4 separate regions of the Homo sapiens genome follow, and all the other regions are linked to region 1. The links are contacts of gene promoters, found by promoter capture Hi-C in human tissues and cell types (Jung and others, 2019). All regions are on one chromosome and are shown on one strand. The core of a region is centred on a gene start or on the middle of the fragment in contact, and the rest is flanking DNA. Distances in the headings are between cores, read along the strand shown.

Region 1 (6,305 bases), core at 1,561-4,060:
CTCTTCTGCAGGTGGGGAAACTGAGGTCAGGAGTTGGGAAATGACCTCTCTCTGGTCTTTACACTATGGCCGAATTCAGATTCCAAGCCAGGTCTGTGGGTTCCAAGTTGAACATCTTTCCACAACAGGACAGCTGTGTTAGTGTTAGAGCTGTCTTTTATTCACATACACATACACACACACACACACACACACACGCGCGCGCGCGCACACACACACACACACACGCGCGCACACACACACACACACACATTTTTTTCCCAACCTTTCTTTCCAGAAAATCAGTGGAAAGCCCAAAGAAGGAAGCGAGGAAAATCAGCGAATTCCTCAGATGGCCTCTGGTCCCTTATTCATACAAGTCCCACAGCCCCTGAGGCGAAGCCGACACCCTCCATTTAGCTACACTTCCCTTGACAGCTTCTCTTTGGAGTTTTAACCGTTACAGGCATACACCCAGAGCTACCAATCAGAATCAACCATGGAAACACACCTCAGTAAGAACTTCATCAGTCTCCACAATGCATTTCTTAAGGAAAACTGGCACATTTCAGAGTTTGCTTTTAACACCAATCCTCTCCTCGATGTTGTCGCTCAACTCTCGGGATCAGCCAAGCATTTTATGTGCCTGTTTTACTACTGGAAGCCAGCATGCTAGCCAAATTCACCTGTCTTCCATCTTCAACCCTAAAGGCATGTTTAAGGGCCTTGGGGCTTTCTCCTTTCCCCAGGGGTGGCCAGTTTCAGAGGCATATTTCTTACTCTCCAGCTCTCCAGCAAACAGGCCCCTGTCTCCCAGAATCACTGCCCTGTGCATCTGCGTGCCACTGCCACAGTTTAAAGCCAGAGAAAATGGCAATGACTGGCCCTCTCAGAAGCTGGAAACACAGTGTGGGAAGGGAAGGAGTCATCTGTGTTTGGGGTGCTGGGCAAAGGGCGTGGGGCAAGCAAGAGCCAAGCTGATTATGTAGATAACAGAAGGACAATTTCCTTCACAAACAGAAAAACCTGCACCAATGAATTAAACATTTAAAACAAGATGACTCTCTAAAAAGTATTTTCAACCAAGAAGGAAAGACAGGCCGTCCTGTGCTGGCGCTTCCTGTTGCATATGGCACTGAGAAATCCTTTTTTTTTCAGTATGCAGAGATTTCCAGACAAAGAAAAATATCAAGAGGGAAATTAGAGGAGGAGGTCCAGAGAAGCGAGACAGGAGGAGCTGGGAAGAAGGGAGGGGGGAAGGAGGAGGTCCCTGCCCAGGGCACAGGGGTGTGAAGCCCTGAGGGGTGCAGGAAACAGACCACCCCCACTAACACACTGGCCTTGGCAAGTCCAAGGAGATGGCCCTAGAGAGGCAGCCTGCCTCACTGGGGCAAGTGAACCACAGAGACACCACCCTGCCTCCTGCCATGCAGGGTATCCACCACGTCCACCCGAATGAAGGTACCTGCCCCAGCTCCCACAGGTCTCCAAGTATAACGTCCGGGAGTCCTCCCAGCCCCCAGCCTTAGAGGGGACACTGCCCTCGGGACCGACCAGAGACCCTGCTCTGTGAATAGCGCCCTTGGCAGTGGGGCTGGCGGGCATCCCTGCAGTTTACCAGCTGGACCCCCTCTCGTGACTGGGGCTCAAGTTCCCTGGTTTCTGGGCAATGTCTAGACTGGCCTTTCCCAGTGTCACAGCCTAGGGAGTGGGCAGGTTCTGCCCTGCCCCCACTCTCCACCTCTACTGAGAGCAATTGAGGGGCTGCCACCCCCAACGCAAGCACCAGAGAGCAAACTCTCTCCTCCCAGGGGCCTGGGAAGTCCAAGCTCCAGAACTGGAACTCAGGGGAAAAAAGGAGCCGGGCGGGGGGAAGAGAGATGAAATCTGAGCTCAGAGAAGCCTGGAGCGGGGCCCAGGGGCTACGGAGGGTCAGTGCCTCTCACGCCCCAGGCGCACTCCCCTGCCACCTGAGTCCCTCTAGGAGCCATGGGTGCCAGGCCAGCCCTCTCCAACTCCCAGAGAGGTAGTAAGTGTAAGGCTCAGAGCCCCGCGCAGCCCAGCCCGCGCCGGGGCGGTGGGTGGGTGGGTGTCTGCTATGGGATTATTCTTAGCGCTCCACTCTCTTCGCAAAAGTGGCGCCTCCGCCCTCCCGGCTCAGGCACACTCGCTCGGGGCTCGCACGCCCGGCCCAGACACCAGCGCGGTGGAGAGCACCGGGTGGGGTCCCCGAAGGGTGAGGCTCGGAGGCGCCGCGGAGGGGGGGCTCCCTAGAGAGGAGGGGGCGCTGCGGGAAGGCCCCCAAGGGAGGCTGCGTTTAACCCTCGACGCCCTGCACCCAGCCCGGCGCGGCGCGCTCAGCCGCCTCCCCGGACTCCTCCCGGGGCGCGGGAGCCCAGCGGCGCGCCCAGCCCTTACCTATGGTGGTGATGACCGTGATCGCAAAGTAGAAGGAGCCGGCGAATTTCCACTGGACGCCGGCGCGGTGCGGTTCCGACTGCAGGATCACCAGCTCCAGCTGCCGGTAGTCCTCGCTGCTGATGTTGTACTTCCCCTTGATCCGGATCTCCTCGGCTTTGAGTTTCTCCTCCTCGCGCATCTCGTGGTCCGACTCGAGGGCGTCGAACACGGCGGCGCCCACCAGCAGGTAGGTGAAGGTGCAGACGATGAGGGACAGAGTCCGCACGTTCTGCCTCTTCATGGCCGCCAGCAAGGAGCCGGCGCGGGGGGCATGTCCCGCAGGCTCACAGCCGCGCGCGTCCCACTGCAGCGCCCGGCGGCCGCCGCCGCCTCCTCCTCCGCCGCCGCCGCCGCCGCCTCCAAGTTGTAAGCGGCGGCGGCAGCAGCAGCAGCAGCAGCGGGGAGGCGGGGGGCGGGGAGGCTGGGGGGGGCCCCCTCCGCTGGGGCCGCCACAGCCACCGCCACCGCGAGGCGGCTGGCGGGGCAGGGGCGGCGCGGGCCCGGGCTCAGCCGAGAAGGCGGACAGGCACAGGAGGCTGCTCGAGCGCCGGGGCCAGGCGTCCGGGAACCCCGACACCCTGCGCCAGACCCGGCCGAAGCAGCCCGCCCCACTGCGCAGGGCCATGCAGGGCGGCCCCGCTGGGTACCGCGCGGGCCTTGCTGCCCTCCGCACCCCGCCCCCCGCTCCCGCGGGAAACGCAGGGACGGGAACCGGAGCCAGAAAGCGGCCGGAGGGCGGCCGCGGGGCCCGGTACCCCTGTGGGTCCAGCTCGCGGGTGGCGGTGCCCAGCAAGGAGCCTGCAGGTCCGCGCGCCCAGCGGAACCTGCTTCCCCTTTTACCCCTCCTCGCCCCCTCTCGGTGGTGGGGAGGAAAAGTTTGCGAAGTGGCGGTGTCTCTGGAGTCCCCTGCAAGCGGGGAGGGGGCCGAGCAGGTGCAGCGGGAGGGGCAGCCCGCTCCCCAAAGGTCCGCGCGCCCAGCGCCCACCCGGGCGCGCGGGTGCGCAGCGGGGTCCCCGCCGGGCGTCGGCCGGTGCGCGAAGTTTGCTCGGCTCAACCCCCAAGGCGCGGGAGCGGGGCGCGGCCCCAGGACGGCAGGGACCGCGATGGAGCGGCTTCGGGGGCGGCCGGGGGACGGCGCGGTGGCGGTCGGCCAGCCCGCTCCTCCGGGGGCGGCGGGCGCGGCGGCGGCGGCGGGAGGGGTCCCGCGGGCCTCGCGGAGCAGCGGGGCGGACGCGGGCGCATGAGCCGCGCGGGGGTCGGGGCCCTCCGGCGTCCGGGCGTCCCGGGAGGCGGCCGCCGCGCTGGTCTGCCCCGGGCGCTACGTGCGTGCGCGCCGTTGGGAGCCCGAATGTGTGTGTGCGCGTGTGTATGTGCGTGTGTGTGTGTGTGTGTGTGTGCGCTTGGCAGCCCCGCTCCGGCGGGAGGGCCTCGGGGAGCGGGGGCCGGGCTACGCCGAGGCCGGGCCTCCCTCCCTCCCTCCCTCCCGCAGCCTCCAGGGCGCGCCACCTCCCGCCTGGTCCCCAGCCAGCTGGCGAGGCTGCTGTGGCAGCTCCCGCTGCAGACCCAGCGCGGCGCAGGGCGCACGCGGAGGGAGCCCGGGAGGGGCGGCCTGAGCCGCCAGGGAGGGGGCGGGGGCGGAGCCGCCGGCGGGTTTTGGCGGGGGATGGGAGGATAAACGCGGCTTCTTGGGTCCTTCTAGCCCCGCTCCCCAAGAGCGCAAGCAGCCCTGGCGGGTGGAGAGTTTGAGGGACTCGGGGTTGGAGGAGGAAAACGGGATTCAGCCAGAGATGGCAGGCTGACAGCTTCAGGCAGATTGGGCAGAGAGTGGGGAGCAGAAGGGGAGGGGGCCATGGGCACACAGGAGAGCGGCAGCAGCGGTTCACGAAGTCTTCCCCACCCCCCACCCCCCACCTAGCCACCCGGCGCGGGAGCGTGTCATTGGCCAGGGACATGGCCTCGTGGAGTGGTGGGGTCCCGAGGGCTGCCTCGGCCCCCTCGCCTCCCAGCGGCACAGCCCGCTTGGGCCAGCACCTGCAGACCCGAGTCGTTTCCCTGGAGAGCGCTAAGGACAGCATGGGCCGCCACTTTTGGAGTCAGGACAGCGGGGAAAGACATCGCAATCCCCCGACCCAGTAACCTCTCTGTTGCTTTACTGAAGGAAAAAAAAAAAATACACACACACACACACACACACACACACACACACACACACACACATATATATATATATATATATATATATAATCACTCTTTGATATATATAATCACTCTTTGGTTCCCCACAGCTGGGCGCAAGGTGCGCCGTGGATGCAGCCCTGAGCCACGCGATAGCCCCCTCGAGACCACCTGGGGTAGGAACACGAGGCTCGGGCTGGGGCGCACCTATTCCCTGCTTCCAGATGAGCCCTCTCCAGGCTTTATCTCCTTCCCATTTTGGCCTCCTTTACCTCCTCCCCCTCCCCGCCCTCTCCCTTTAGGCTATCGAGGGGCTTTTCCTTGACCTTCGGCTTCCTGAATCCCGCCTGGAGCCCTGGAGCTCCAAAAGGACAGACCCAAGCCTCAGAGACCCCTGGGCTCCTCTTCCTCTCCTGACCCCAGCCAAGGAAGGGATGGAGATGGGAAAGAGTTGCCTGGCGGCAGGCTAGCAGCTGGCCAAGGGGTGGCTGGGGAATCAGACCTAACCCTCGGGCAGCTCGCGGGCTCCAGGAGACCAGTCCCTTCTGTGGGTCGCCCCCTGGAGCGGTGCTCGGGCTCCCTGGCCTCAGGGACCCCGGGCCCAGAGGGTCTGGGACCCCAGTGATTCACCGAGGCCTCCCAGCTGGGACGCTCTGCACCCCACTTTCAGGGATCACGGGTGCCCACCAGGGAAGGGGAGCCCGCGCTGTGGGCTACGTCTGAGCCGTCAGGTCCTCGCTGGGTCTGCGGGCGCCCTGGGGCGAGGGAGCGGGGAGCCCTACCCCGAGCAGGCACTCTCCCCAGATTCATTTTGGAAACCAAGGCCCCCGCGCTCGGCAAGTGAGCCTGGCTGCCGGGTGAGTCACCGCGAGCGGGCGACAAGGATTCCCAGCAGCTGGTAATTAATTGCGCCGTGGCTCAGCCCACGACGGAACCCCAGTCAGGCCTCCCGCCGCCCTGGCAGCGGCGCCACCCCTGAGTCACAGCCGTCGGGCCTCCGCGCGGTCCGGAAGCCGCCTGCCCGCCTCGGCGCCACCAGGGGGCACTGGACTCCGACCCACGCGGCGGCCGCGCAGCCGGCCTCGCTGCGGGGAAGTCCAGGCTGTCCCCGCGGCAGCGCGGGCGGGGGAGGGGCGCGCCGGCAGACGCCGCGCTCTGCAGAGCCACTTCGATTTGGTTTACGGAACTCCATTTGCATACAGCCTTTCAGGAAAGCGCAACCGCTGTATGAGTACTGGAAGGACCTCTGAGATGAATTACTCCAAACCCCTTGTTTTACAGATGGGAAAACTTCCAGCAAGACAGGATCACGTGCCCAGGATCCCACAGTGATTCCGATGTGGAGCCAGCCCTGGAAGCCTCTCCGTGGCTTAAGGACCCCCGCTGCTTTCTGGCCCCAAGCTTAGAGTGCCTTGAGTGGCCACCTACCAGCCCCCAGACCCTGGTTCTTCCTCTCTTCCACCCGTGGGAATAGACCCGTGGACTCAGGACCTCCCAGGCAGTGTCTGAGCCGTGGAAGCAGAGGGTTCCTCGTCCGCCCGTCCACACCCCACATGTGCCACTTTCCAAGGCGCTGGACCTGCGGGTGGAATGGGAGCTCCTGGGAGCAAAGCCTGGGGCTCAATCAAGCATCCTCCCTACATCCCCAGCATCCATCCCGGATGGTGTGTGCCACACAGCAGCCCAGAGAG
Region 2 (6,305 bases), core at 1,579-4,078, 490 kb before region 1:
AACTACAACAAGGATGGTGATGAGACTATAATGAGAAGACATCAAAAATACTAGCTCCACGTAGTATTCAAACTCTTCCCAAATACTAACATAATTCTCATAAGGTGTCTGCAAGACAGATCGTATTATTCTAACTTTACCAATGAGGACACTGAGTCACAAAGGGTTTAGGTAACTTCCCAGGTCAAACAGAAAGATAGACAAATTTGAATCTAGGACACAGGTTTTAGAGATTGGTGAATGCATCACCCTTTAGCACTGGACTAGCATCTATTAAAAGAACAGAAGGCTCACTTCTCTGGATTTTAGCAATTTTATCTAGCAGAGAAAGGAAAATATTGAAGGCAAGATAACTAATTTTTAATGTGAAACTACTGGGTGTCAGAAAACAAGGTGCTTCCAGGTACACTGTCTGCCTTCTTTCATCTCATAACACAGCTATGAGGACCCAGGCTCAAAGAGCCTAGGCAGATAATTGCAGGTCATCTGGCCAGTTAGCACACCTGAGGTCCATCACAGGCGCCCATCTTGGAACACGACGGGAGGTCTTCCCTCCTCTTCCTTCTCTCTCAGGGCTCCGGGTTCCAAAGAGAAGCCACACAGCACAGCCCCTAGGAGGGTGGGAAGCCCAGGAGCACCCCTTCTGCAGCAGCACCTGCAGAATCCTGGAGTGGATGCTCTGGCTCTGAGCCACAAGAGGGCGCTGCAGGCCCAGGAAGAGGCGGCCGCGGGGCCTCTACCTCCCACCTCCTCCATCGTCTCACTCTGGTCTCTAGACAGAGGCTCTCTCAGGATTCACTGAAACAGAACTCAGTGCAAACAGCACAATTTAGAAAAGGCAACAAAACCAGCCCACGCCTCTTTCTACTCATAGATTTTATAGCCCAGTGGAATCCACCCTCCACATCCCTCTAAGCCAGGATGACTCGTCTGCTCACCCTACGGCAGCCCGACGCCAGCATCTGTCCTGGGCTTACTTTATTGCATTTCCTAGAATCGAAGGCTAAACTCCTGGAAAGGGTCCGCTGGAGCTCCTTGCATCCCTGGCCCCAGCCTTTGCCGGTCTGATGGACTTGGCCCACTCTGCCCAGGACTATTGGCCAGACTTTATCATTGCCATCATCTTCATAAGTTAAAACTCACAGTTACAGTAGAACAGCATCAGCAATAGCTAACATTTGCTCAGTACTTTGTTAGGCACTAGGCCCAAAATTTTAATCCTCCCAACAACCACACAGGTAAGAACTTGTCATCCTCTTTTAGAAAAAAGAGAACTGAGTCTCAAATGTCATGAATACACGTCAACACCAGCATGTGAAGTCACGTCTGTTTGGCATCAGTCTGTCAACCCCAGCATGTGAAGTCACATCTGCTTGGCATCAGTCTGTGGTCCTTCTGCTGAATTGAGCCATTCTGGTTCTCTGATCACTTTGAGTCCACGACCTGGATATATGAAAGTCAGACTCTCATTCTTTTGCTCATTTATTCAACAAGTAATTATTAAGCACCTACTGTATACTCACACACTCTGACTATACATGCAATATAATTTGATATGGAGTCTGACCCTGAACTATGGTAAATATCACCCCAGGATTGTTCTAAGCACACTATTCAGGAACCAAGAAGACAGTGATTCCGAAAGACAGGTAATGAGGTGACCAAAATTACCAGGATAATACAGAATGGCAGACTATTTAGTACTGTTCTCAGTTCCTCTCTCTCACCAAGGCCATCTGGATCTATGCCCTCCTCTTGCCACTCTTGATCAGGCTGCAGGTGGCTCTTTGGGGATACTCTTTTATCTTGTATTAAAACGCTGAGTCAGATTTTCTCCAAAAGGACTTACGACTGTGGATGGATATGCCTGAATCCATGGACATCTCTAAATACTGGAGAGAGGGCTCGTTTCCAAAATGAACCTAGCAGAGGCAGCCCAGTGACACAGACATCGAGCAATATCTTAGAGCTAACGGTGGATGCAAGGAGAGGCTGCATGAAGGCCGTGGAAGAGACAGGGAGGTCTGAGTCCTTGAAATACCATTCAGCCGTGTGAACTTGGACCTTCTCCCCATCATCTCTAAGCCTCATTCTCCTCACTTGTAAAAGAGAAAGTGAGATTTAATAAGCTTTCCACCTTATTCCTGTTTTAGTAATCACCAATTTTATTATACAGCTCACTATTAGCGGTCTGACAGCCAGTCATCTCTAAATCTAATCTCTAATATGCAATATCCTCATCTTGGAAATAGGGATAACATTAATGTCCTTGAAACATTGACATAAGAATTAGATAGAAAACGTTCGTATACCTTGCACTTGCTTATAACAGGGACCCAACACATCATAGCCATAGCTGTAATTAGCAAAATAAAGGTCGATAACGGAAAACTAAAATCAGAAATGCAATTCCTCGGGGCATGAGACTCCATCCTAATGAATTTCCTGGTTCCGCAAAGGAGGCGGCTGTCAAATCCCCTCCATGAGTCATCAGCTCCCTCCTCCTTCCTAAGGTCCTCTCTTCTGTGACTCCAAGCCTCCACTGTTCTGGAGAAGGGGGTGAGGGTGAGCCAAGGCTGATCAATGAGGCCACAGAGTGTTTGGGATGGGGGTGGAGTGATTGTTTGTTCACCAGAAAAAAAAAATGAGGAGGTTGGACATGATGAGGCATAAAGGCCCTTTCAGGTGGGAGATCTGAAATTGGCAGAGGCCCAGAGAGAGGAAGTGACTCACCCCAAATCATACAGCTAGAAAGACTAGGCAGAGCTTGAATTTAAACATTGCTTTAAAAAAAAAACAAAAACAAAAAACCCAACTGCAAGAGTGTCAGTGAGGCCTGGGCTTAGAAGTTCCAGAACCTGTGTTGTTGTCCTTGTCGTCTATCAGTACTGGAAGCAAGACACATGCTGTGTGTGCAGGGGGTTCATAGGAGGCGCCGTATTTATACCTGTCTGTGCTTTGTGGTCATAAATTAATTCTGAGGTCATCAGAGAGACAAAAGAGGATGAGCAGAGACGTCCCTGTTCTTCCTAAGGAGAAGGGATGACCTATGACCATCCTTGCCCAGACTAACGTCATTAACATACAAAAACACAGACACACTGGAGCAGGACAGGTCAGTCCATGGAGAACAGAAAGAAAGGAAGGTCATCAAGGCCAACTTTGGCGGTGCCCAGCAAGAGCTGCCCTGGGCCCAGCTGCCTTCACCCCAAGGACACTCGCAGCTGCATGCCCTGAAGCCAGGAAAATTTCGAACCATCCAATCAGCAGCCTCTGCTCTGAGTCACAAAATCACATCTGCAAGAGCCCCTGTATGGAAGAAAACTGAGTCATCTTCTCCTTTCACAATAATAAAAATAGTTCCCTCATTTGAGCACTCATGATATGCTAAATGCTTTACATTTTAGCTCACAAAAATCATATAAGGTAGTTCCCATTTATCCCCATTTTGAATAAACAAATGCAAAGAAAGGTAAATTATCTTTTTTTAAAACCTAAGCTCTAAAAGCTAGAAATTGGCAGTCTTGATTTCAGACAGATCTGCCTGACTCCAAAAGGTTTCTGCTAGGATACTCTGCTGTCTGAAACTTCTTCTACAGCCATGTCATATGTTGATATGTGATATGTAAGCATACATATAAACATACTTTAAATGTAAACATGGTAAATGTTCCTTAGGAGTAAATGGAAAATTCAAGCAAATACAAGGACGATCACTGTGGGATAAATGTCAAAAATGTAATGTTTTACTCTAGCCTCTCTCCTCTTTGTGCACACACATTCAATGATGACATACTTTTTCAATCTGCTTTGTTAAATGAATATATTGCCTGTATTTTGCACATTAATTATCAATATAATTCTAAATCATTGCCTGCTAGTTCATTATTTGGCTCTACCATAATTTATTCAACTGATCCCCTCACTGCAGGGTGTTTAATTGTTTTGTTTCTATCACAAATTACACTGTAACATTTGCACATGTAAATATTTGTGTGCATAGCTCTGACTATTTTCCTGAATTATTCAAAGGTTCCAGGTATTTCTGATAGGTCTGCTTAACAGGGAGAGAATGGGATTGACACATGAATATACATCTACCAGTGTGGCAGAACTACTTCTCATTGTAATTTAATAAAGTGGCGTTTGGTTCACTTTATCCACTCCTGCGCGATTAGCTAATGTGAGCGCCCTCTAAGCGAAGCCAACACCCCCGGGGGCTGTTGAAATCATCTTTCCGAGCCTGCAAGCCCCTGGATGCTGGTGCATTAATCAAGGTGAATGCTCCCTCGCGAGGCTTCCTGCCTGCCGGGCGGTGAACTAGCTCTCCTGAGAAAGAGGCACACTCAACAGGCAATTGCTTTCCGTCCTGAACCTTTGTCCCAGAGGAAAGCAAACACTGATTGATCATTATAATTGTATGAATGAGAAATGTCATTCTTAGCCTCTGCCTTTTATAAATTCTTATGGATTCAAAGCCAGACAGTTGCTTCCCTCTTAGAAGGATTTACAAATGAGAAAGACAAATTTTTTGTCTGAGGAATGTGAGCTCCTTGAAATTATCAGGCCCAGAGAGGCATTGAAATGTGGCAGTCACCTCTCACTCCCTGCCTGAGGTAAGTAATCACTTCTGGAAGCTACTTGCTATGTGGACTCTAGACTAGCTGACAGTAAGTAGCCAGAAATTAACCTAACAATGCCAAACACTGGAAACCATAACTCATATTCTAAACCTGAATAACATGAGCCAATAACATATCAACATCATTCCTGTAAAACAGTGAGATTACCTGAAACACGACTTTTGTAATCGCCCCCTCTCCTGAGTTGTCCTTTTTTCTCTCAAATCTCTAGCTGCCGTCTTTGTTCTCTACAGCATTTCCCAGAGTGTCCTGAGCTGGGCAGCCGTGCTCAATCTTGGCCCAGATAAAACTCTCCATGTTAATTTTGCCTTGTTTTTTAGAATGTAAGTTGACACATATGTCTACAGATTCGTGACTCATGAATGGCCAGCTTAATAGGAAAGACAACACAACATTAAGCTCAGGAAGAACTTTCAGGGTTCCCCCAGGGTCTCCTCCACGCCTCTCCTCCTATCTAGTCCTGCCACACTCCCCCACACCCCACACATACATCATTACAAATGCTACACTCCCTGTCAACCTGCCGTTTCCCCAGCTCCTCTGGTCCCCCCCATCTCAGACCCACAGGGTGCTTCACTGAATTGTCAGAACTGTCTGCTGAAAGATTTCTCAGAAATTCCAGCCTTGGTGAAATCTCTTAATAGCTTTCTGCTGTGTCATGGAGGGGGAGCCCAAATTCAAGGTTCTTCAAAGTTGGCCACCAAACCACTTCTCCAGCTTCATTCCCCATAATAAAATAGCTCCAGCCATTCTGAACTATTCATTTCCTACCCCAGTGTTCACCATTTCTTCCTCCTTACTTTGCTTATGCTTTTTACTCTGCCTACAACCTGCCTCTGCTGTAGCTTCGTTTCTGAAGCTGCCAAGTGACCTGCCTGTATCAGCTCCACTTCTTGGGTTCATCAGAAATGCCACCACCTAGATCGAATTCTCCCCTGAGGACTTCTGCCTCCAGCCATGATGGAGTGGCAAGCAGCAGAGCAATGCAACCTGAAGAACAAACAGAAGAGCCCACAGAGGAGCAGAAGATGTGTTCCAAGGAGTCAGATCGCTATGGCAGCATTTGGGATTTGGGGAACCAAGAGTTTTGAAAGGAAATGCAGAAAAATATACTCACACTCTGCACCTGACTTTTCCTCAGTGTGTTTGCCAATTCGTGATTGAGGGTATGGGGGCTACGATCCCACATAATCCAGCTGACAAAGGACCACTGCTGGAAGGCAGAGAAATCAGAATGAAAATCTTACAGGGCAGGAGAGACCCCAAAAATGGGGTTTGGGGGTGTCAAGGCAGCCAGGACTTAGGACCCAAGATGCCAGTAAGAAACTAGGCACAGAAAAGTGGGCCTAGCATTCAGCTGGTTTCTCTGCAAATCATTGATATTCAAGTAAGCAGTGCTTAGAGCCTAAGAAGATCAGCCAAAGCCACTGAAAACAATCGATTAATGTAGAGCATCATCCTAACGTGCTGAGAAGACAAACCTTGGTTCACAACCAACAAAGACCACATGTTCTCACTTAAGTGGGAGCTGAATAATGAGAACACATGGGGGAAGAACAACGCACACTGGGGCCTGTCAGAGTTCTTCAGAGTTGGCCACCAAACCACTTCTCCAGCTTCATTCCCCCTTCCTTGTAAGGACCATAATAGCTCCAGCCTCCT
Region 3 (6,305 bases), core at 2,356-4,855, 310 kb after region 1:
TTTGTGGAATACTTTCAATTTTAGATTTTGTAAAATCTTAGATTTTTGCAATTTAAAAAATTAGTTCCCAATATCACACCATCTACAAAAAACATATGAAAGATGGATGAATAATCTCAATGTAAAATTACAAATATATTAGCAGGAAATCAAGGAGAACACATGTCTAATCTTAAGTAGGGTAAGTTTTTTTTACTGAAGCCCGAATGAAGCCAATAAGAACAAAATAATTTTACTAAAAATGTTCGCAAAAGGTGACCAAAATAATTTGTAGTAAAATGCAGATAGCAAATTCAGATAAGGTTAAAATATACGGCACACAAAACTTCCTGAAGATGAATGGAAAAAGATTAATACAAATTTTTGAAGAGGCCAAGATTACATATAAGAGAATACACAGAAGAAATGCAAATGTTCAGTAAACATAAAGATGGTTTACCTTACTCAAAACTAAGGAAATTAAAATTATACACAGTGAGATATTTCACATCCATCAAACTGCAAACCTTCATGAAAAGAATGAGATATTCAATGATGTCTATGATAGGGAGAAACGAACAGTCTCACATGCTCAGGAGGGTAAATTATGGAGGAAGATTCCATATTAAAACTAAATTTTTAGAATTTATATTACAAAAACCACCCACGTATGCACAAAGTTTATATACAAGAATGTCCAATGCAAAACTGCTTGAAACAGTAGAACATAGAAAACAAACCTCACTCAACAGAGAAGCATTTAACACATTATGGGGTATCTATCGGACAGAAGGGCACATGATCTGTAAACAAATGAGGAGACCTAGATTTACTGATGTGGAAAGATGATCAACATGTATCGTATTTTTTTAATTTGCAAAAGATTAAAATTTTACTTCTATTTTAAAAATAATGGTAACAGGCAGGGCATGGTGGCTCAAGCCTGTAATACTGGCACTTTGGGAGGCCGAGAAGGGAGGGTCCCCTGAGGTCAGGAGTTCAAGACCGGCCTGGCCAACAAGGTGAAACCCCATCTCTACTAAAAATACAAAAATTAGCTGGGCGTGGTGAGGCAGGCGCCTGTAATCCCAGCTACATGGGAGACTGAGGCAGGAGAATCACTTGAACCCAGGAGGCAGAGGTTGCAGTGAGCCAAGATTGTACCACTGCACTCCAGCCTGGGCAACAGAGCAAGGGTCAGTCTCGAAAAATTTAAAAATAAAAATAATAGTAACAATATTATATATATTTAGATGAATTAAAAATTTGGAAAAATTTGTGTCAAATTTTTAATAATGGGTGTCTATGTGAGATGATATTGCAACAGATACTCGTCTCTACTTAACATGCTTCCAGAAGGCATACTTTTTTTTTTTTTTTTTTTTTGAGACGGAGTCTCACTCCGTCACCAGGCTGGAGTGCAGTGGTACAATCTCGGCTCACTGCAACCTCTGCCTCCCGGGTTCAAGTGATTCTCCTACCTCAGCCTCCCAAGTAGCTGGGACTACAGGTGCATGCCACCACACCCAGCTAATTTTTTTTTTTTTTTTTTTTTTTTTTTGACGGAGTCTTGCTCTGTAGCCCAGGCTGGAGTGCAATGGCACGATCTCGGCTCACTGCAACCTCTGCCTCCTGGGTTTAAGTGATTCTCCTGCCTCAGCCTCCTGAGTAGCTGGGATTACAGGTGCCTGCCATCTCACCCAGCTAATTTTTGTATTTTTTGTAGAGACAGGGTTTCACCATGTTGGCCAGGCTGGTCTCAAACTCCTGACCTCAGGTGATCCTCCTGCCTCAGCCTCCCAAAGTGCTAGGATTACAGGCATGAGCCACTGCGCCAGACAATTTTTGCATTTTTAGTAGAGATGGGGTTTCACTATGTTGACCAGGATGATCTTGATCTCTTGACCTCATGATCTGCCCGCCTTGGCCTCCCAAAGTGCTGGGACTGCAGGCGTGAGCCACCGCGCCCGGCCAGGCATACATTTTGTATAACAAGTTTGAATGACTAGCTTTTAGAAGAAAGAAGTGGGGGGAAAAAACGTATTATTTTATATAATCATCCTACTATTTATAGATAAGGCAATGCGGGGCTCAGAGTATCTAAGAGGCCTGTTCAAGGCAGGAAGTAGAGTTCCATCCCCTCTAATTTCAAATCCTTTCTTCCCTCCACAAAATCAAGGTACCCTGCCACAGTTATTTACTATGTCCCTATCACGTGCCAGTCATCTGAGAGACTTACTTAAAAGGGGAGACACAGAAAAGACACTGCCTGTAACATACCTGTAAAGACTGAGAATGAGAGGGAAGAAGGGCGTGGACCCCATGCGCTGCAGGCTTGCCACGCATCAGGCACACAGTTTCTTACTGGAATCCTCCCGACAGCCCGATAAGGAGGCCCGCTTTATAAAGATTCTGTAACTTGCCCAACATGGCAGAGCTGGGATTCCAACATGAGGCAGTCAGCCTCCAAAACCCAGGTCCTCCACCTCTCGGCCCTCCTGCATCCTGCTGGTCAGGCCGAGGCCCCCCAGTGACTAGGGTCCTGATGCAGCCACGAACAACACCAAGCTCGTTCTTTCTTCTCACTCTGCCTGAGTCCCTCACCTGCAACACGGGGCAACACGTTCTCTAGCCCACACTCCCTAGCATGTCAAATGTACAAGGACAGGCGCTGAAGTCTCCCATGAGCCTCTGAAGGGGATTGAGGGACTACCTCACCTTGCAGAGGGTCACCGTAAGTTCTGAAAAGTGGCAACACCTGGAAAATGCTTCCTAAGGAAGCAAAGGGGTTACAGGGAGAGCAGGGTGTGTAGCAAGGCAACTGGCACTTAGTGTGTGCTCAATAACCATCCAGATCCAGTTCCTTTACACACACTGAGACGACAGCGCCTCAACACCTACATGCACAGGGCTGAGCGGGCCACACAGAGGCAGGAAGAACGCTAACAGCCTGGTCAATGGGACCCTAAGTGTAATGGATAATTAATGCTTTTGTGAAAAGATGCTGCTGCTCTTGGGTACCTGCTCGGCAGGTAAGGGCCAGATGGAGTTCAAGCCCATCAAGCCCATCACAGTCGCAGCAGCTGGGTTCCACTCGGACCGTGACCCCGCCTCTCCGTGCACTCCTCCAGGAACCTGTCTGTACTGGGGCTCCAAACTTCTCCCTTCTCCAGCACTGCACTTCCTGTCAAGCCACTCCTGACCCTAAGGAAAGGAAACTGTACTCCCCAGTCGTCTAAACAAACAACTCAAATCCCACTGTAGGTCCTCCGGCTGGTCAACGCAAATCTAGTTGTTCTGTCTCCAAAGCTCCTGCCACACATCGTTCACACTGCAGCGTTTCTTCAAAACTTCGGTTGACCACTGACTACTTACTTCACCTGCTGCTGCCCAAACAAAGAGTCACAGAGTGGCTGCCTTCAGAGAGCTGACCATAGGTGAAAGGGAGGCCAACAAAGGCTTCAGGATCCGCTGAGGTCAGTGATGTCCTTCGGGAGTGCTGGAGCCAGCTGCTGCAAAGCCGCCTGTGTTTACAAGACTGGCTCATCCCTTTGTCCCTAGAACCTGACACACAACAGAAGTGCATACACACAAGGAAAATGACAACCACCAATTTTCAATTATCTGCCTTGTGTCAGGCACTGTTAATAATTTTTCAGACACTTTATAACACACAGTTTTACAACCCTGCACAGTCAGTGTTATCTCCTTTTCAAGATGAAGGAAAAATGATGCTGAGAGAAATGTGAATGGCTCGCTCAAAACCACAGCGCCAATGAGCAGGAGAATCAACACTGGAAATCAGATACAGGCGCATGGGGCTCTCACTCCTGGTGTGCACTGCAATTCTAAATTCTTGTTAAATTTAAAACCAATCTACTAAGTAAACATAGCAACTGGAAAAAGATCTACCACGATAAAACTCCACAGTGCCCCTTCCATGGGTGAGCTGTCCCCACCACACAGGGAAAGTGACGAAGGCCTCGGTGGCAGGGTGTCTATCAATAATGTCGTAACGATTACACCCCACGCCCCGCTCAGAGGAGTGTATTTTCCACATAGATCAGAGTAGAAATGTCTAAGAGTGGATCGTTTATTGTAACAGGCTAGAAAGAAATTGCTCCTCAGGAGAGAGGGAGGCTCGGCACTCAGACAGGGATGGTCCAGCCTAATCCATTTCCATCTCGTCCCTAACAAGGTTACCAGGCAGCTCTGTGTAAAAAGCAAATCTCAAAGGTAATTTGATCTTTTAAATAAAAGTCAACTGAGACCTATGTACTCCCTGGTGGGAGAACAGTAAAAATAATAATAATAATAATGAGAATTCTACCTATCTATATTGGGCTTTGGCATTTAGAAAAAACTGCCCCCTCTGTTATTTAAATGGATTCTCTTATCGCCCTGGTGAGGTGAGCAGAGCTAAGAGGCTCACTCTCCCCCTAGGGAGTGCAGAGACCAAGCTGCGGCAGAGAAACACACTCCTCCAAAGATACGGCTCCTACAAAGGGTCTGTCCAGCGGCAGAATAGACACCAGAGTCCAGGACTCCAGGCTCCCAGGTCAGAGCAGGTGTGGCAGCAAGCTTTGGTCTGGGTGTCCCCAAGGCCACAGTTCAGATTGCCTCCCTTCCACTCACGAACGCACAGGACAAGGTGAGGAATGTAACACCCCCAGATAGGAATGCCAATGTCAGAGGGTTCTCGGGAGTGTGCATGGGATGCCCGACGCAACACCCAGGGCATGCCCTGGAGTCTAGCAGGCCGTGAATAAATAGGACTGCTCTTCCTTCCCATGCTCTCATATAGAAAACCATCATTTTAAAAAATACCAATAAGAAAAACTGCAGAAATTATCAGTATCAGTGAGAGGAGCAGACAAACAGACTACCCCAGGAGTAAATAACTCACATCCATTTGTATTTTGGTTTCACAATAGAGTATATGATTCATGTTATGCCAGCAGTAAAGTAGTCCTTTGACATATATTTGGCTTCTATTTGCACCAAAATTAGTCTGAATCTCTGTGTAGGCTCGCACTGGCATGTATGTGGCCATCTTCATTGTCCATGCTGCAGTGGCCTGGAAGCCAGGACATCTAGATGCCAGCCCTGTCACCTGCAAGCTGTGTGAACCTGAGCAAATCAGAAAACTCTCCGGGCCTCGTTTGTGATGCAAATGTGTTGAAATGGGCCATCTCTGGGGATGCATATAACTCTAACATGGCGTGATGCCAGAGTACAAATCTTCACCTGTGAGCAAAATGAAAAGTAATGAATTCACAATACACCATGCATCACGTAACTTCAATAAACTGCAAAGGCCAAGAGCCGAAAATGCATACTAATTCTGTTGTGTTCCAGGCCTTGCAATTTACACAGGTCCCTATTAAGAAAGATAGAATTTAGCACTTTGGGAGGCCGAGGTGGGTGGATCACTTGAGGTCAGGAGTTAAGAGTCCAGCCTGGGCAACTTGGTGAAACCCTGTCTCTACTAAAAATGAAAAACAATAAAAATAAAAAAAAAATAAGCCAGGCACGGTGGCTCATGCCTGTAGTCCCAGCTACTCGGGAGGCTGAGGCAGGAGAATCACTTGAACCTGGGAGGCAGAGGCTGCAGCGAGCTGAGGTTGTGCCACTGCACTCCAGCCCGAGCAAAAGAAAAGAAAAATAGAACTTAAATATATATATAAACGGGGTCATCCCTTTTATACAAAAGAAACACCTGAATGAATAGAGCCTTGGTATTTTACATCCTGTCATTCCTACACCTTCCCCGGCTGCCCACCGTGGGGCAAGGCGCTAGGTCCTGGGAGGCAGAGGTTGACCACCTGGCTGCATGTTCCACAGAGCTCAAAATCCAGTGGAAGAACCAGAAACCCAACATTAACACCTCTCCTGTTCCTCCCACTGTGGGTGGTGAAATCCTTCTTTCCTCAAGAATTAGTACAACGTTTCATTTTTTTGTGATGCCTTTCCAGCTCTCCCCAGTAAAAATTAGGTGCTCTCTCCAACGTATATATATTTTCGTACATGAAATGTTAAATCAAGGTTAAAATTTACATACAACGAAATACACAAATCTGAAGTGTATACTAGTCTGATTATTTGTCTACAACCCTATAACCCATACCCCTATCAATATATGCAACATTTCATCAAGTCAGAAAGATATTTTCTCTTCCCTTTAGGGCGACCAACTGTCCTGGTTTGTACTGAGGACTTTGCTAGGGTGAGGGAATTTCAGAGCTAAAATCTAGAAAATCCCAGGCAAACCAGACAGTTGCTAACCCAAATCCCTTCCCAGTCAATTCCTGCCCCACGTTACCTTA
Region 4 (6,305 bases), core at 1,777-4,276, 290 kb after region 1:
TGGAAATAAACCCCAAGAGTATTATTTCTCACCCAACCTATTGGTAATATTTTTAAAGCGTCCCAGTACCAAGAGTTGGTCAAGCTATAGATCAACAGGAAATACGGGAATTCCTGTCACTGCTGGTAGGGATACAAATTGGTACAACTCCTTCAGACAGAAAAAGAGTTTGACCGAACAATTCCATTTGTAGCTGCCTATCTTGGATCAACTCAGAGTTTGGTAAAGGGGCACATTCAAAAGTGTTCAATGCAACATCATTTATAAAAGTAAAGAACTGCTTTTAACTAAGTGCACATCAACTGGAGAGTAGATACAGACATACAATGGTAGAGTTATATGATGGAAACCTATGCAGAGGTGACAATGAATTTAAAAGAACTATATGCCCCACCACAGACAAATCTCATATTAAAACTGCTGGGTAAATAAGTTGCAGAAGATATACAATATATATGTATATCAAATTTTAAAATATGTTTTAAAATACTCGATATTATCTATAAATATCAAATTTAAGAGTAGTCATTCATGCTAAGAGAGCAAGAGACACAGTGTGGAAGAATATACAGAGCTTTAACAGCATATTTTTATTTCTTTAAATTAAAAACATAAAAGCAAATATAATATACTGAAATATTAAAAATGGACAAGTCTGTATGGTAGACAAATTGATACCTCCTAGACATTTATTTATGTTTCTTATACTTGAAATGTCTTATAAAAAGTTACTTTTAAAGTCATTTAGACTAATGTGTTAGCCTGGGATCCCCCCAGAAAGCAGAGCCTGAGAAAAGGGTTTGCACAGAGCTAGTGCTTAGGGAAGGGATGCCAGGAAGCATGTAGAGTAGGCAAAGTGGGGCAGCAGAGGAGAAGGTGATGCCAGAGGGCATGTTGCTGTGCGTCGCTGAGCTGGCGGCCCTGTGGGCAGCTGGGGCTCAATCATCGTCCTTCTGTGGAGCCGAGAGGATTGCGCTTCACACTGTGCGCCTGAGGCACAGAAGAGGAAATAATTGCTCTCCCAACTCTTTCCCTCACTAGTCAAGCTTTCCCCCAGAGGGGTCAGTTCTCTCACACTTCATCCATGCACTGTGCAGAGAGACTACCCATAGCCACCCAAACCTACAGCCTCAGAGAAGGCAGTTAGAATATTCCAGAAAGCAAGAGATGCTCACGACGGCTATGGTAAGGTGCTGTCAGGTGACACCTGCATAAATTTGGTTGCCACGGCAATAGCTAGTCTAAAAGTGGGCTACTATATGAGGCAGAGCATAAGACATGTATGACACAACTATTTCTTAAAAATTAAGTGAGTCTCTTGACATTAACACGGATGTTTTAAAATGACTTCAGATCTGATGGTAAACAAGGGCCTCCCTGAAGAAATGATGTTTCAGTTAGGAATCCAACAACAAGAAAGCAATCATGTGATGGTCTTGGAGGACAGCTTTCCAGAGAGAATGAGCAGTTAAAGCAAAAATCGTAAGGCACAGTGTGATCAAGGAACAGAACAAGCAGAGAGTGGTGTAGGAGTAAAAACAGAGGAAAGGTCATGGGGAAATACTCATATTTCATTCCAAGCAAAATGGGAAGGTATTTTGAGAGTTTTAAGCAGATGAGTGACATGAATTGGTTTGTGTTTAAAAAAAAAAAATGGTGAGTTCCAATTCTGGAAAAGATGGAGTAAGCACAATCTACCCTGTCTCTCCCACTGAATGCAACTATAAATCATAGAATGCACTGAGCTGAAGATGAAGACTCAAAAAATAAATGTTAGAAGGTGGATCACAGTAGGAGCCAGAAACTGAAGTTATTCTGAACTGGCAGTGAGCTGCATCTCTCTCCAGTACCACCTGGCCTCAACTGAAAGGCAGCGTGGACTCCAGAGGCGTGCCCTGTGTATAGCCAGACAGAGCTCCCAGGGCAGCCTCTCTTCCTGGTCCAACAAGTGGGAAAAGGTACTATGAAGGGCCACAGAAAGTAGGAGAATCCCTGAGTCTTTTCCCTTTTTTCTTCCCTTTTCTCCCAGCCCAGCCTCAAAGCAAACCACAGGAGATAATGACATCAGAGCAGTATTGGCGGGACAGGCTCACACACCTCCCTGATACAAACCACCTCACTGACCCAAAGAGCTGAGGTCCCAAAACCAGGGGGCCAGTTTGCATCACTCTGATTTCCTTCTCTGTGCCTCTGGACAGTCAGTCCTCCATGTAGACACACAGAGGGGGAAGCTCATATCCTGCCTTTGTAGCAGGCACATAGGGATAAGAGCCCCCAGTAATTTGGGAAGATTTCAGAAAGGAGATTGATTCAGAGAGCAGACAAAGTCAAGCATGAACTCCTAAGCTCACCAGGGAGCTGAGCTTGACAGAATCAGACCCTCAAGAGCAAACCACGGGCTTTGATAACTGATCTCCAGGCAAGAATGCCGACGGGCACCCACATGCGGCTGATCCAAGAAGCACCACAAATGCTTTGAAACTGGAACTGCAGCACAGCCTGCAAAAGGTACTCTGCATTAAAAAAAAAAAAAAAAAAAAAAGTACCAACATTTTCCTCAGTATTCAAACAAGATCCCAATGCCTCCCAATATTATAGTCAAGATGTCCAGAATACGATCTAAAATAACTCAACACAGAACCAGGAAAATATCAAGTCATGAGGAAAAAGTAAGTAACAGACAATAACTTCAAGATGACTGTCTTATTAGAAAGAGACTTTAAATGCATTCCAAGAACTGACCATACTTGAAACAAGTGAAAAGACGGAAAATCTCAGCGAAAAAGAAGATAAAAAAAGAACCAGAAAAACTTAAGCAAAAAAAAAAAAAAAAAAAAAAAAGAAAGGAAAGAAAAAAAGAAAAATTCACCACATGGTGAATTATCTTAGTAACTGAGAGGACAAGTAGACATAAAATCAGAAAGAATATAAGATAAACAAAATTACCATTGACCACCCAGATCTCACTAATACTCAGAGAACATTCCACCCAAAAGCAGCAGAATAATCATACTACCCAAGTGTACATGCAATATTTACCACCAATCACATTCCAAGACCATGGGTTGGGGGTGGTGGGGGAACTCTAACAACTGTAAAATAAAAATCATACAATGTGTTTTTGGGATCAGTAAGGAATTAAACAAGTAAATGTGAAGATAGATTAACAGATTATCCAATGGAAACAACAGGGGAAAATAAAACAGAAAAAAAAAACACTCTTATGGGACAACGAAACCTCTAAAAATCACGTCACAGGAGACTAAGAAACAAAGAAGAAAATAACATGCCATTTTTAAATAAATAATGGCCACACCCCCAAAAAGAATTGGCAAATGACATAAACAGATTCAGAAACCCAAAAAGTTTTTTGTTTTTGCTGTTGTTGCTATTTTTTTGTTTGTTTGTTTGCTTTTGAGACAGAGTCTCGCTCTGTCACCCAGGTTGGAGTGCAATGGCGTGATCTCGGCTCATTGCAACCTCTGCCTCCCAGGTTCAAGCGATTCTCCTGCCTCAGCCTCCCAAGTAGCTGGCATTACAGGCACACACCACCACACCAGGCTAAACATTTTTTATGGTATTTTTAGTAGACACGGGATTTTGCCACGTTGGCCAGGCTGGTCTCGAATGCCTGACCTCAGGTGATCCACCCACCTCTGCCTCCCAAAGTGCTGGGATTACAGGCGTGAGCCATCACGCCTGACCCAAAAACTATTTTTTTTAATCCCTGCCTGGAAACATAATCAAACTGCAGAAAGCTAAAGAACAGAAGCCATCTGGAAAGCTGCCAGAGCAAACAATACATCCTGCACAGGGAAACAATGAATTCTACACAGAGGAGACAATGCATCCTGCACAGAAGAGATAATGCATTCTACACTAGGGAGACAGTGCATCCTTCATAGGGGAGACAATGCAACCCTCACAGGGGAGACAATGCACCCTACACAGAGAAGACAATGCATCCTACCCAGGGGAGAAAATACATCCTACACAGGGCAGACAACGCATCCTACACAGGGCAGACAACGCATCCTACACAGGGAGACAATGCATCCCACACAGAAGAGACAATGCATCCTACCCAGGAGAACAATGCATCCCACACAGAGGAGACAATATATCCCACACAGGGGAGACAATGCATTCCACACAGGGGAGACAATGCATTCTACACAGGGGAGACAATGCATCCTACACAGAAGAGACAACGCATCCTACCCAGGGGAACAATGCATCCTACCCAGGGGAGACAATGCATCCTACACAGGGAGACAATGCATCCCACACAGGGGAAACAATGCATCCTACACAGGGAGACAGTGCATCCTACACAGGGGAGACAATGCATCCTACACAGGGAGACAATGCATCCCACACAGGGGAAACAATGCATCCTACACAGGGAGACAGTGCATCCTACACAGGGGAGACAGTGCATCCTACACAGGGAGACAATGCATCCTACACAGGGAGACAATGCATCCCACACAGGGAGACAATGCATCCCACACAGGAGAGACAATGCATCCCACACAGGGGAGACAATGCATCCCACACAGGGGAGACAATGCATCCCACACAGGGGATACAATGCATCCCACACAGGGAGACAATGCATCCTACACAGGGGAGACAATGCATCCCACACAGGGGAGACAATGCATCCTACACAGGGAGACAATGCATCCTACACAGGTAGACAATGCATCCTACACAGGGAGACAATGCATCCTACACAGGGGAAACAAAACAACAAATTTTTCTAAAGTCTGAAGAATCCTCATAAAAAACCACGGAGGGCAGAGAAAGTGAATCATTTTTAAAATGCTGAAAGAAAAGAATGTCAACTCAGAAGTCCATATCTATTAAAGTATCTTTCAGGAATAAAAGTAAAGACATTCTCAGATAAAGGAAAATTAAGAATCTCAGTCATCAGTAGAACTTTTCTAAAAGAACTGGGAAAGAAAGTCCTTTAAACAAAGGGTGAATAATAATACAGGGAAACTTGAACACGAAGCAAAAAGAGTAACAAAAATGGTAAGTATCTGGTTAAATGTAATTTCCTATTAAGTTACTTAAAAGATACACAATGGACTGGGCGCAGTGGCTCATGCCTGTAATCCCAGCACTTTGGGAGGCCAAGGCGGGTGGATCACAAGGTCAGGAGATCGAGACCATCCTGGCTAACACGGTGAAACCCCGTCTCTACTAAAAATACAAAAACAAAATTAGCTGGGCGTGCTGGTGGGCACCTGTAGTCCCAGCTACTTGGGAGGCTGAGGCAGGAGAATGGTGTGAAACCAGGAGGCAGAGCTTGCAGTGAGCCTAGATCACACCACTGCACTCCAGTCTGGGCAACACAGCGAGACTCCGTCTCAAAAAAATAAATAAATAAATAAAACAAAACAAAAAAAAACAATGAACGATATATGATGAATACAAGCTAAAATTATAACATTGGGTTTACAATGTATACAGATTTAATACATTATACAACTAAGACATGAGGAGGGGAAAGATAAAAGCGCCTATATTTGAGATTCCACCAAGTGATAAAATATTATTTCTAAGTCAACTGTGAAAACCTAAGAGCACTTATTATACTCCCTAGAGAAAACACTGAAACAGCTCTACAAAGAGATAAAGTTAAAAGCTCAATGCTTTAAAAATCAAATAGTTTAAAAGAACATAAAAAAGGAGAAATGGAACAATAAACAACAGAGTGAATAAACAAAAAACAAACCAAAAATACAATGGTAGACCTCAGTTCAAACATACCAAGAATTACATTAAATATAAATGACTTAAATAGTCTCATTAATAGACAGAGATTGTCAGAATACGTTTAAACAAAAAAAAACACTCAACTATATGCTATCTATAATAAATCCACTCTAAATATAATGGTATAGATATGTTAAAAGTAAAAGAATCATGCCAAGAAAACACGATTCAAAAGAATACTGGGCTGTTATATTAACATCAGACACCTAAAGAGGGACATTATATAATGATAAAAGCATTAATTCACCAAAAATACACAATAATTATTAATGTGTATGAACCTAACTATAGAGTTTCAAAATACATGAAATAAAAAACTGAAAGGATGAATGAACCAAATCACAATTAGAGACTTCAACACTCTTCTCTCAGTAATTGATAGAACACAGACATGAAATCAATAAAGACATAAAAGTAATAAACACCACCAACCACTTCATACTGATTGATAATTAGTGAACACTCCACCCACCAAGAGCAGAATATACATACTTCCCAAGTGCACAGCAACATTCAAC

What was found. The method cuts DNA at HindIII sites, captures the fragments that hold promoters and counts their contacts. A contact is called where the count stands out against the background at its distance.
Region 2: a contact is called between a fragment that was not itself captured here and the fragment with the promoter of KCNK9 in region 1, in 1 of the 25 tissues and cell types used here (dorsolateral prefrontal cortex).
Region 3: a fragment that was not itself captured here is called in contact with the fragment with the promoter of KCNK9 in region 1 in 2 of the 25 tissues and cell types used here (mesendoderm cells and spleen).
Region 4: a fragment that was not itself captured here is called in contact with the fragment with the promoter of KCNK9 in region 1 in 2 of the 25 tissues and cell types used here (H1 embryonic stem cells and dorsolateral prefrontal cortex).

Annotation. Positions count from the first base shown.
Region 1 is chr8:139,700,313-139,706,617 of GRCh38, forward strand. It overlaps KCNK9 (potassium two pore domain channel subfamily K member 9), which reads right to left and starts at 2,811. Exons shown (of 2, transcript NM_001282534.2): 1 at 2,398-2,811. The coding sequence starts at 2,680. RefSeq lists silencers at 2,534-2,828, 5,537-5,906. The HindIII fragment of the contact is 18,854 bases long and covers 1-6,305 here.
Region 2 is chr8:139,212,810-139,219,114 of GRCh38, forward strand. No RefSeq gene overlaps it. Among named protein-coding and RNA genes, the nearest start is that of COL22A1, 300 kb to the left of the region's middle. RefSeq lists enhancers at 2,165-3,364, 2,756-2,895. The HindIII fragment of the contact is 3,763 bases long and covers 948-4,710 here.
Region 3 is chr8:140,010,158-140,016,462 of GRCh38, forward strand. The region is part of intron 18 of TRAPPC9 (trafficking protein particle complex subunit 9); the gene reads right to left. Among named protein-coding and RNA genes, the nearest start is that of C8orf17, 82 kb to the left of the region's middle. The HindIII fragment of the contact is 6,590 bases long and covers 311-6,305 here.
Region 4 is chr8:139,993,342-139,999,646 of GRCh38, forward strand. The region is part of intron 18 of TRAPPC9 (trafficking protein particle complex subunit 9); the gene reads right to left. Among named protein-coding and RNA genes, the nearest start is that of C8orf17, 65 kb to the left of the region's middle. The HindIII fragment of the contact is 7,978 bases long and covers 1-6,305 here.